Linked DNA regions of Homo sapiens: region 1 is linked to region 2. The links are contacts of gene promoters, found by promoter capture Hi-C in blood cells and fetal thymus (Javierre and others, 2016). All regions are on one chromosome and are shown on one strand. Each heading gives the region's core, a stretch centred on a gene start or on the middle of the fragment in contact. The rest is flanking DNA. Distances are from core to core; before and after follow the strand shown.

Region 1 (4,796 bases), core at 1,922-4,421, 130 kb after region 2:
GCTTCCATCAGGCAGCTGGGCATTCAGGTCCATCCTTGCAGCCTGAGTCTGTGACCAAGTCCACTTATGGAGTGGGATCTGGGGCTCCTCAAACTTTAATCTTGTTTATCTAGTCTGCTTCTCCTCCACAAGTACAGATCCTGCCATTCTGGGCTGACCTCTTCTAACGACCTGTGTTGCTCATGAGCTCTTCCCACCCCTGCCCTGATTAGCTGAGATACCAGGCACTTCTTCCAGGCTTTGCTCACCTCTTCATCTAACAGACCATTGACACCTGCTTGGAGATTGATGACAGCTACAAATTTTACTTACTCCTAAGATTATAAGTTCCCTGTGATACTAAGGCCTGGCCCAAATTGCAAAATTGTTAAAGCAGAAACTCCAGCTTGCATGTTGAAGGAATACGTGAAGTAAAAGAAAGCTGTGAAATAGGCTAACTCAGTTACCATAGCTTATGGTTAAGAAAGCTGCACTGGCTGATTGGGAAGCAGTTGCACACTCTCTAGGACCATTAAGGTCAAACTTGGGTGAAATTTTGCAGCCTCCATTCAAATTTATCCTGTTTTGTACAAAAACAAATTGGCGTTCATTTTTCTAACTTGGGTTAGGTTTTGTAAACCCTGTTCTGAAGACTAAGACCAGAACTCATTATCAATAACAGTTTGTGGATTCCTGATTTTATGAAAACCATCTTGATCTTTCTTCCTTTATTATTTTTAGCATTCTTGTTTTCCTTTTTAGTATTTTAAAACTAAATATTTTAGCTGATATTCCATGTCAAACCAAGTATCTCATCTTGTAATGTCATAATCTGTTAAGACATTCCTCTCAACTTTGTAAGCAAGGCTTTTATTATGTAAGTCAGCAACAAAGGTGGGATTTTAGATTAAGGAGGATGCTAGTGCTAATTGCCAAAGTAATCATACTGAAAAGCATTCTTGTTGAAACTCAGACATATACCACAAGTAAGAGAAAATGATATTCTTCATCAGATGAAATATTTGGAAATTAATTATTATGATAACAAGTGAAAAGCAAACAAAATACTCCTTACAAATATATTTTTACAAATTTATAACTTGTTTAAGGTGTAAGAACATTCTGAAAGTTTCATTTTGCATCAGCCAGTGAGTTTTAATGTAATGCTAAGAGGTGGAGGCATTAGTAACCCTATTTATGATAAATATAAATTCAGAAGAGTTAGGTAACTTGTTATGGTGTGAATGTGTGTCCCATCAAAATTTGTATGTTGAGATCCTAACCCCTAAGGTGATGGTATTGGGAGGCGGGGCCTTTGGGAGGTGATTCAGTCATGAAGGTGGAGCCCTCATGAAGGGGATTAGTCCTCCTATAAAATAGGCCGAAGGAAGCTAGTTCCCTTCTACTCAGTGAGGACACAGCAAGAAGCTGCCATCAATTAATTAAGAAACTGGCTCTCAGCAGACACTGAGTGTGCCTGTGCCTTGATCATGAACTTCCTAGCCTCCAGGACTGTGAGAAATAAATGTTTGTTGTTTATAAGCCACCCAGTTTATGGAATTTTTAAATAGCAACCCAGAAGGACTGAGACTGTAACTAGACTGAAACTGTAAAAGTATAGGATGGTAGCGTTCAAACCAGGATTTCTAGGGTAGCTGTGTGAGGAATGCAGAGGAGAGTAAGGTTCTCTGCCCCCAAGGTATGTGCCATTTTGTGAGGGCACAGACACTTATAAGACATTGAGGGAGCCTAAGAGAAAGAGTAGCTCCAGCTCGGCCTAAGGAGGAAGAGGCAGGACGGCTCTGCCAGGTGATGGTATCTGTACTGCTCTTGAAGATGGGAGGGTTTGGACAGATGAATGAGAGTGGGAGCAGAGTGAAGGCAGAGAGTAAGAAAGTACAGGAACAGTCCCAGGAAAGTTGAGTAATTTAGGGACTAAATACACAGATGGGCCAGGTTTTGTGGTGAGAGATAAGGCTGTAAAGGTGTAGGGGAATTGTATTGTAAAGAGCCTCCAATTCCACATCCTGGAGATTGATTCTAACCACTGTGGAGGCTGCCCAAGAGCCCTTGGGCAGGAAACAGATGTGATAGGAGTTTGTGTTTTTGGAATACAGGTGGCATGAGAGTGTGACAGTGTGGTACTACTATCGGGTACTACACAGGTGGTGTGAGAGTGTGGTACTTTCTGGAAGCAAGATCGTGACCAGGAGTGAGGAGCCGGAGTGAAAGGATGGACATGGAAGAGAAATGGCAGCTTGAGGATTCAAGCAAGTATTTTTATTTTGGTTTGCTTGTTTGGTTCTTTAACTTCAGGAGAGAACCGAGTGTGTTTGTTGGTCAGTGGAAATTTGCTGGTAAAGAGGGAAACTATTTGACAGTATACAAGCAATATAAAATACAAAGAAATGGAGAAGCAGGACACTCATTGCTTTGAAACTGTTGGGAGCAAGCAGAGAATTGGTGAAGTTTAAGGTTTTGAGAAGAAGGCGGCTTTTAACAGACAGTGCTAGTCAATTTTGTCTGAACTGGTACGGTCTTCTGCCAAGAAAGAAGGGTAAGTAAGTGGAGAATGGGAGTAAGGATTGTGGGAAAACATGAAGGAAAAAAACTGCATGGAGAAGCCAGGTGTGGTAGCACACACCTGTAATCCCAATACTTTGGGAAGCTGAGGCAGGAGGATAGTTTGATCCTAGAAATTGGAGTCCAGCCTGGGCAACATAGCGAGGCCCCATCTCCACTGCATGGAGTGTAGATAATTAGGAATTAGTGAACGGGAGTGAACCTGAGATGAATAAAAGAATTGTCTGTGCACCCAGTATCTAACCACAAGTAGATATTATCAGCCTGCCTTACTGGTAGTGAGATTCCGTATAGTTATCCCACAGTTTTCCATGAAAATGGAGAACATTGATAACATGAATAATTAAAATCTCCAGATGAGCTCTAAATCTCATTTTAGCAATAAGCTTCTATTGCAGTAAAATATCTTAGTGTCTCCTGATGGAGTGACAGAAGGATCTTTTTTGACTGTGTTATTCGTACATGTGTTTCTGTTAGAATGTGGAATACCTCTGGCCTCCACATTCTAAATTTCCTACTTATTGAAACTTAGACGTATACCACAAGTATGAGACATATACCACAAGTATGAGAACAGCTCAGCAGTCTTAGATATCTCAAAGACTCCAGGATTACTGATTGACTTAGTAACTGTGTCAGGCCAAGGAGACCTGATTGAGTCAAGAAATAGCTTTGAGTACTCTGTTAACTTGGTGAACAGGTGGACTCTGGAAGGGCTGAGTACATCCCAGAGTGGACAGGTTGGCAGCAGGTAACAAAATTTAAAGGGCATATTGTCTTTCCTGTAGCAATTCCACCCTGCAGAATTTGCTCTGCTAGAATGCAAGCTTTTGAGGCGGCAGGGATCATGTCTTTGTTCTTGCTGAATCAGCAGCACCTAGCACAGTTCCGTGCATTTGATATGTGCTTAATACATATTTGTTAAATATGTGATTGAAACACTCATAAAAGTGCAGAGACGCCATTCTCTGCCCAAGTTCTCTGAGGTCCAGTCAGATGGTCTTTTGCCTCTGACCTCTGCTGTCTTTCGCCTCTGACCTCTGCTGTCTTTCCTCCTGCACTGCCTTTGCACGTGCCACCCACCTCTTCATTCTTCCAGATTATTTTATGAGATGCTTTCATATGATTATATTCCTTTTTTTTCCTAGTCATGTAGTCCATTTTTTGATTTTTTTTTTTGTTAATGTGATTCTTTGAATAATGCCTGTGTCTCTCATTAAGTGTGGGATAGTATCCACTCACTCTTATATCCCTAGAACAGTGCCTGGTAAAAAGCAGAGTACACACACACACAGACACACACACAGACAAACACATGCACACATTAGTGAATGAGACCGGACACAGTAGCTCATGCCTGTAGTCCCAGCACTTTGGGAGGCTGAGGCAGGTGGATCGCTTGTGACCAGGAGTTTGAGACCAACCTTGCCAAGATGGTGAAACCCCATCTCTACTAAAAATAAAAAAATTGGCTGGGTGTGGTGGTGCATGCCTGTAATCCTAGCTACTCGGGAGGCTGAGGCAGGAGAATAGCTTGAACCTGGGAGGTGGAGGCTGCAGTGAGCCCATATTGCACTACAACACTCCAGCCTGGGCGACAGAACAAGACCTTGTCTCAAAACAAAACAAAACAAAAAAACGGGTGAGTGAGATTTGGTTGGTACAGCATTGTTTATAATAGTGAAAATTTGGAAACAAGCCAAATATCTATCAATAAGGAAGTAAATTATAGTACAGCTACTCTTTGGAATTCTTTTCAGCTGAAATAAACATTGAAGTAGAACTATATGTCCTGATCTAGAAAGTAATGCATGATATATTATGTCTTTTATAAAGCAAGTTGCAAACTATCAGGTATAATGTAATCCTGTTTTAATAACAATATATGCAAGAAAGAAACAACCTCAAAATGTATATGTTGTAAAAAATACTAGATGGATATAATAAATTCTTAATAGCAGTTTATTTCTGAGTTGTAGAATCAAGGATCAATTTTTATTTTGTTTCCCATTTGTTTGAAAAAACTCACTTTTTCCTGCTATAAATTGTATTCTCTACTCTTTTCACTTGTTCTTCCATCTGTCCATCCATCCATCCATCCATCCATCCATTTATTCATTCATTCATCAATCCATCCATTAAATCCAGATATTTAAGGAGCACCCATATGCCATGCATTGTGCTAAGCAGTGCATCTATAACTAACAGATAGGTTGCTCTTGAATTGCTAACCT
Region 2 (4,205 bases), core at 933-3,432:
TTGATTCATTGCATCCATTTAAGTATCTAAGTTGCCAGGGAGTGTTCATGATGTTGGGGGGATACAGGGGGGACAAAACAGACTCTGACTCTATAGCCCGCTGAAACAGATGAATTCATCAAATAATAGGACAATTCAGTCAAAACATATTACCTGATAGCCTGATGGCTCATTTTAAAAGACATTTTTAAAAGTCTCAGAGGATCCCTGGGTAGGTAACCAGAGACTTCAAGCTTTCTGTCATTTGGTTTTCCAGTGTTCTGTGTCTCTCCAAAGCTCATATACATACATATATTCGGAGGATGCAAACTTAAAATTTTTTCTTCTGAAGCCACTTTCTATTTTTGCATACTGAATTTCAATCTTTAATTTCTTTAGTCACTTGATTTTAAATTTTAATTTCATAGCAAGTCTAGCTGTTCTCTGTAGGCATTCACATAAAAGGGTTGAGGTTTGCCCTCTCTGCTCTCCAGGGCAAGGTGAAATTTAATTATTTTCTAGGTTTTAAACAGAGAACCTAAAATATATATTTTATATCTTGACTTGCTTGATTTAAATCGTGGTTTAGAGTGTGTGTATGTGTGTGAAACGGTGGAGTAATGGCAAATGAAAGAAAGAAGGAAGTTACACACCTGTTGTCTAAGAACCCTATATGAGTTCTTGATCTGTAGCAAAAGCAGAGTCATGACCGTACCTTACACTCTGGATCAGCAGGTTGCACCAGGGACACTTCAGAGAACACATGAAACGTGAAAAAGCGGTTCTCTTCATAAAAGACAATTTTCTTTGAAGACCTCAGGTTCCTTTAAGGCAGGAAGCAATATGAGTTTCATCTCCTGGGCCTGATTAAACAAGATTATTTTCGTGTGCTATTTATCAGTAGACGATCACAATGAAATGTGCATACGACAGTTTACTGCCTCAATCACATATTGCAAATCAAAAAAACTAGAATGCCGTTTTGCTGGGGCCTCCTTAGTTTCTCTTCTATTTCATTCTTTCCTTTCCTTTTATTCCACATTATTTTACATTTTCCCATAAGTCATCCATAATTCAATCTCAGTCTAGAAGAGTAAATTCGATTACTCGGCGGCTAAACATCGTGTGCCTTCTCAGAAACAAGAGAACTTGTAAAACAAAAACAAAAACAACTTAAAAAAACAAAAACAACCAACAACCACCAAAAAAACAAAGGCATGAAAAGTTGGAACCTATCGGGAGGCTCTTGGAAACTTGGGCAGCTTCCTTTCTCTGTTCAGGATTTAGATTTCTATCTCACGTTACTTTGCGAACAGCTTCGCCTGTGAATCTCCCCCTACACCTCTGGGCACCGGTGCCAATTCCTTCCCTTCCCTTCCCCAGTAGCCCCACACAGTATAGAGGAGCTTATTTTCTAAGACTGCACCGGTGTCAGAGGTGACGTGAGAGTTTCTAACCGAATGGCGTTTTAGAAATAGGAACGGGAAACACAGAAACGGCTGAGGAGCGACCCCGTGGAGCAGACAGGCACAGCCCGGGAGCGGCGGACGCCAGCGCCGGCGCCGCAGGGAGCGCGTGCGGGGCTCCGCGGGGCCGCCTCCCGCGACTTCAGCAGGGGCCGCGGCCGCGCTCCCGGGCCGGTGGGCTGAGGCAGGCAGAGGCCGCCATATTCCTGTCTCACCACGCCCGGCCGGACGGCAGCCGCAGGTCGGCTGCGGCCCTGGCACGCAACGGCGGCCGCCGGCTCGGGCTGCGCGTCGGCGGCCGGGTCTGGCCCCGACTTCGGCCGGGGGCGGCCGTGACTGCTGCGCCCGCGGACTCTGCCGAGGGTGCGGGAGCAGTAGGCGTCCGCAGAGCCCGCGGGGGCCGGCCCAGCCCGGGAGCCGCGCGGGCGAGGCGAGAGCCGCACTGGGAGGCGCGCCGCGGCGGCCGCGAGCCCAGGAAAGCCTTCCAGGAGGGGCCGGGCGGCACCGCCTCCCGGCTCCCTCCTCCCGCGCCCATCCCCTCCGCCTCTTCCTCCTCCTCCTTTCGCCGCCGCCTCCTCCCTCCCGGATCTGTGCTCCAGTTCAGAGAAAGAAGAAAATGTGTGTGTGTGGCGAGGGGGAGGGCTCGCACTGAGCAGCCGCTCCGCGCCTGGCAATCGGGGCAGGGGGTGGGCGTCTGGCGGGGGCGGGGGCGGAGGCGGAGGCGGAGGAGCGCGCGGTTGCCGGGCGGGACGGGAACCGGGTCTGCGCGCGAGCCGGGCGGTGGGCGCGGACAGGGCCGAGGGCGCCCGGGAGCCGTGTCAGGCGGCGGCGAGGAGCGGGCGCGCCGGGCGCGGGGAGCCGTCGGCGGCCGCTCGCTGCGGGGACACCCCGGTGAATGAGCTCTCGCCGCCAGGCGCACGGCGTAGGGGAGCCTCGCAGGCGGCGGCGGCGGCGGCGGCTCGGGGGGCGAGGCGGGCCGCCTGTTCCCGGGGAAGGAGGCGCGGGCGTCTGAGCGAGGCCGGGCGCGGCGGCCTTCTCTCACGCGCCCCCCGAGCCAGCGCCCGCCTCCCGCGCCCGCCTCTCTTCTCCCGTCGGCCCAGACTATCCGCTCCCACCGCGCCCCCGGCCCACCTGGTGGCCCCGGCCCTGGCCGCCGCCCCCGCGGCGGTTCCCGGAGCTCGTCCCGGACGCGCGCCCGGGCGGCGGGGGCTCGGCGGCCACCGCTGCCTCGGGGGAGCGAGGGCGGGAGGGTGTGTGTGCGCGCTGTGAGCAGGGGGTGCCGGCGGGGCTGCAGCGGAGGCACTTTGGAAGAATGACTCTGGAGTCCATCATGGCGTGCTGCCTGAGCGAGGAGGCCAAGGAAGCCCGGCGGATCAACGACGAGATCGAGCGGCAGCTCCGCAGGGACAAGCGGGACGCCCGCCGGGAGCTCAAGCTGCTGCTGCTCGGTGAGTACCGTCCGGGGCCCCGCCGGGCCTCTGCGCCCCCAGCCCACCATCCTTGGCCCTGCGGGGCAGCTGCCTTCGGCGCCCCCGCCCCCCGGCGCCCGCGGTTCGCCCCTACCCTCCCGGGCGCGCCCCCGGCCACTGCCTTCACCCGCGCGGGCGCGCGGGCGCGTTACACACAGACACACACACACACACACACACACACACACACAGCGACACACACACGCAGCACAGGGGTCGGGGCTGCCCTGCCCGGTGCCTTGGCTTGTTCCTTTTCGTGTCCCTGAGGGCTGTACCTTATCTGCTGTGCATCTGCTAAATGGCAGATCACTCCGACCAGAGGCGCGGGGGTGGAAAGGTGGGCAGAGGGGTTGAACTTCCAGTGTCGTGGCCGCGGCACCCCATGGGGTGGTGGCGTGGGGAGCCGTGTGTGTGGCCCAGCGGGTGGCGAGCGGAGCCGGGGCACGTTGGGGGATGGCCTGCGGTGGAGTGGCCGGTGTGCATCCATTATCAGTGCCCTATGGGGTCAGGAGGGAATGGGGGAACGGTGGGCAGACTCGCAGCTGGATTCCCGGAGCACTCATGGTGAGGAAGCCAAGTGGTTGGCCCTCCAAGGAAAGGGTCTGTGTACTGGGGGCGAGGCGGGAGGGCAAGCCCAAATGTGTCACACAAGTGCTGTTCTCTAGCCACCAGACCATCGAAAGGAGGGAGCCTAGAAGAGTTGGCCAGTGGATGGTGACAGGCGTTATTCTCGTCTGCACCATTCCTTCTAGATAAAGATGAGGGTAGGGGAGCGTTGTGCTGTGTGGTTGTTGACAGCGACCGGTATCTTTTGTTTAATGAGGCAACCTAGATGTAGGCCTCAGTTCACAATAGTTACTACCGAAAACCAGTGCAGTCTCTCAGTTACTCTCTTGGCAACAAATAGAAACCTTTTGTTTAAAACAGATAGCATTTTAATGTCTTTGGAATCTGGGCGAGAAGGAAAAACGGGAAGCATACAGGAAAAATTTCCCTCTAGTCTTGAAAAAAAAATTCTGCTTCAACACTAAGTTAGCAAGAAAATGCCATTTCTCAAATAGAAATTTATTGATGATTATCTCTGGGAGGATGTTCAGAATCAAGCGATCAGGGTTCATATACAAGCCACAGTGACAGAACCCTGAGCTACTGTGGCAGGAAGAGCAAACAGCTTTGCAGTAACGGGCCTGAAAAATGTCTGCACTTGTGTTCTGGGTATTTGCATGTATAATAAATGTGTTTCTCAAACATTTCTGTAAGAAAAGAATATTGTACTGTTAGTTGGTGTTTG

The links. Contacts are between HindIII fragments. The CHiCAGO score rates a contact against its expected background, and 5 or more counts as called.
Region 1: a contact is called between a fragment that was not itself captured here and the fragment with the promoter of GNAQ in region 2, in 11 of 17 cell types (megakaryocytes, erythroblasts, naive CD4 T cells and 8 more). The highest score is 10.5, in megakaryocytes.

Annotation. Positions count from the first base shown.
Region 1 is chr9:77,898,498-77,903,293 of GRCh38, reverse strand. The region is part of intron 2 of GNAQ (G protein subunit alpha q); the gene reads left to right. It overlaps LOC107987081 (a long non-coding RNA gene), which reads left to right. Exons shown (of 2, transcript XR_001746758.3): 2 at 1-4,796. Among named protein-coding and RNA genes, the nearest start is that of GNAQ, 130 kb to the left of the region's middle. The HindIII fragment of the contact is 441 bases long and covers 2,951-3,391 here.
Region 2 is chr9:78,029,788-78,033,992 of GRCh38, reverse strand. GNAQ (G protein subunit alpha q) reads left to right here and starts at 2,182. Exons shown (of 7, transcript NM_002072.5): 1 at 2,182-2,893. The coding sequence starts at 2,758. RefSeq lists an enhancer at 2,099-2,993. The HindIII fragment of the contact is 11,535 bases long and covers 236-4,205 here.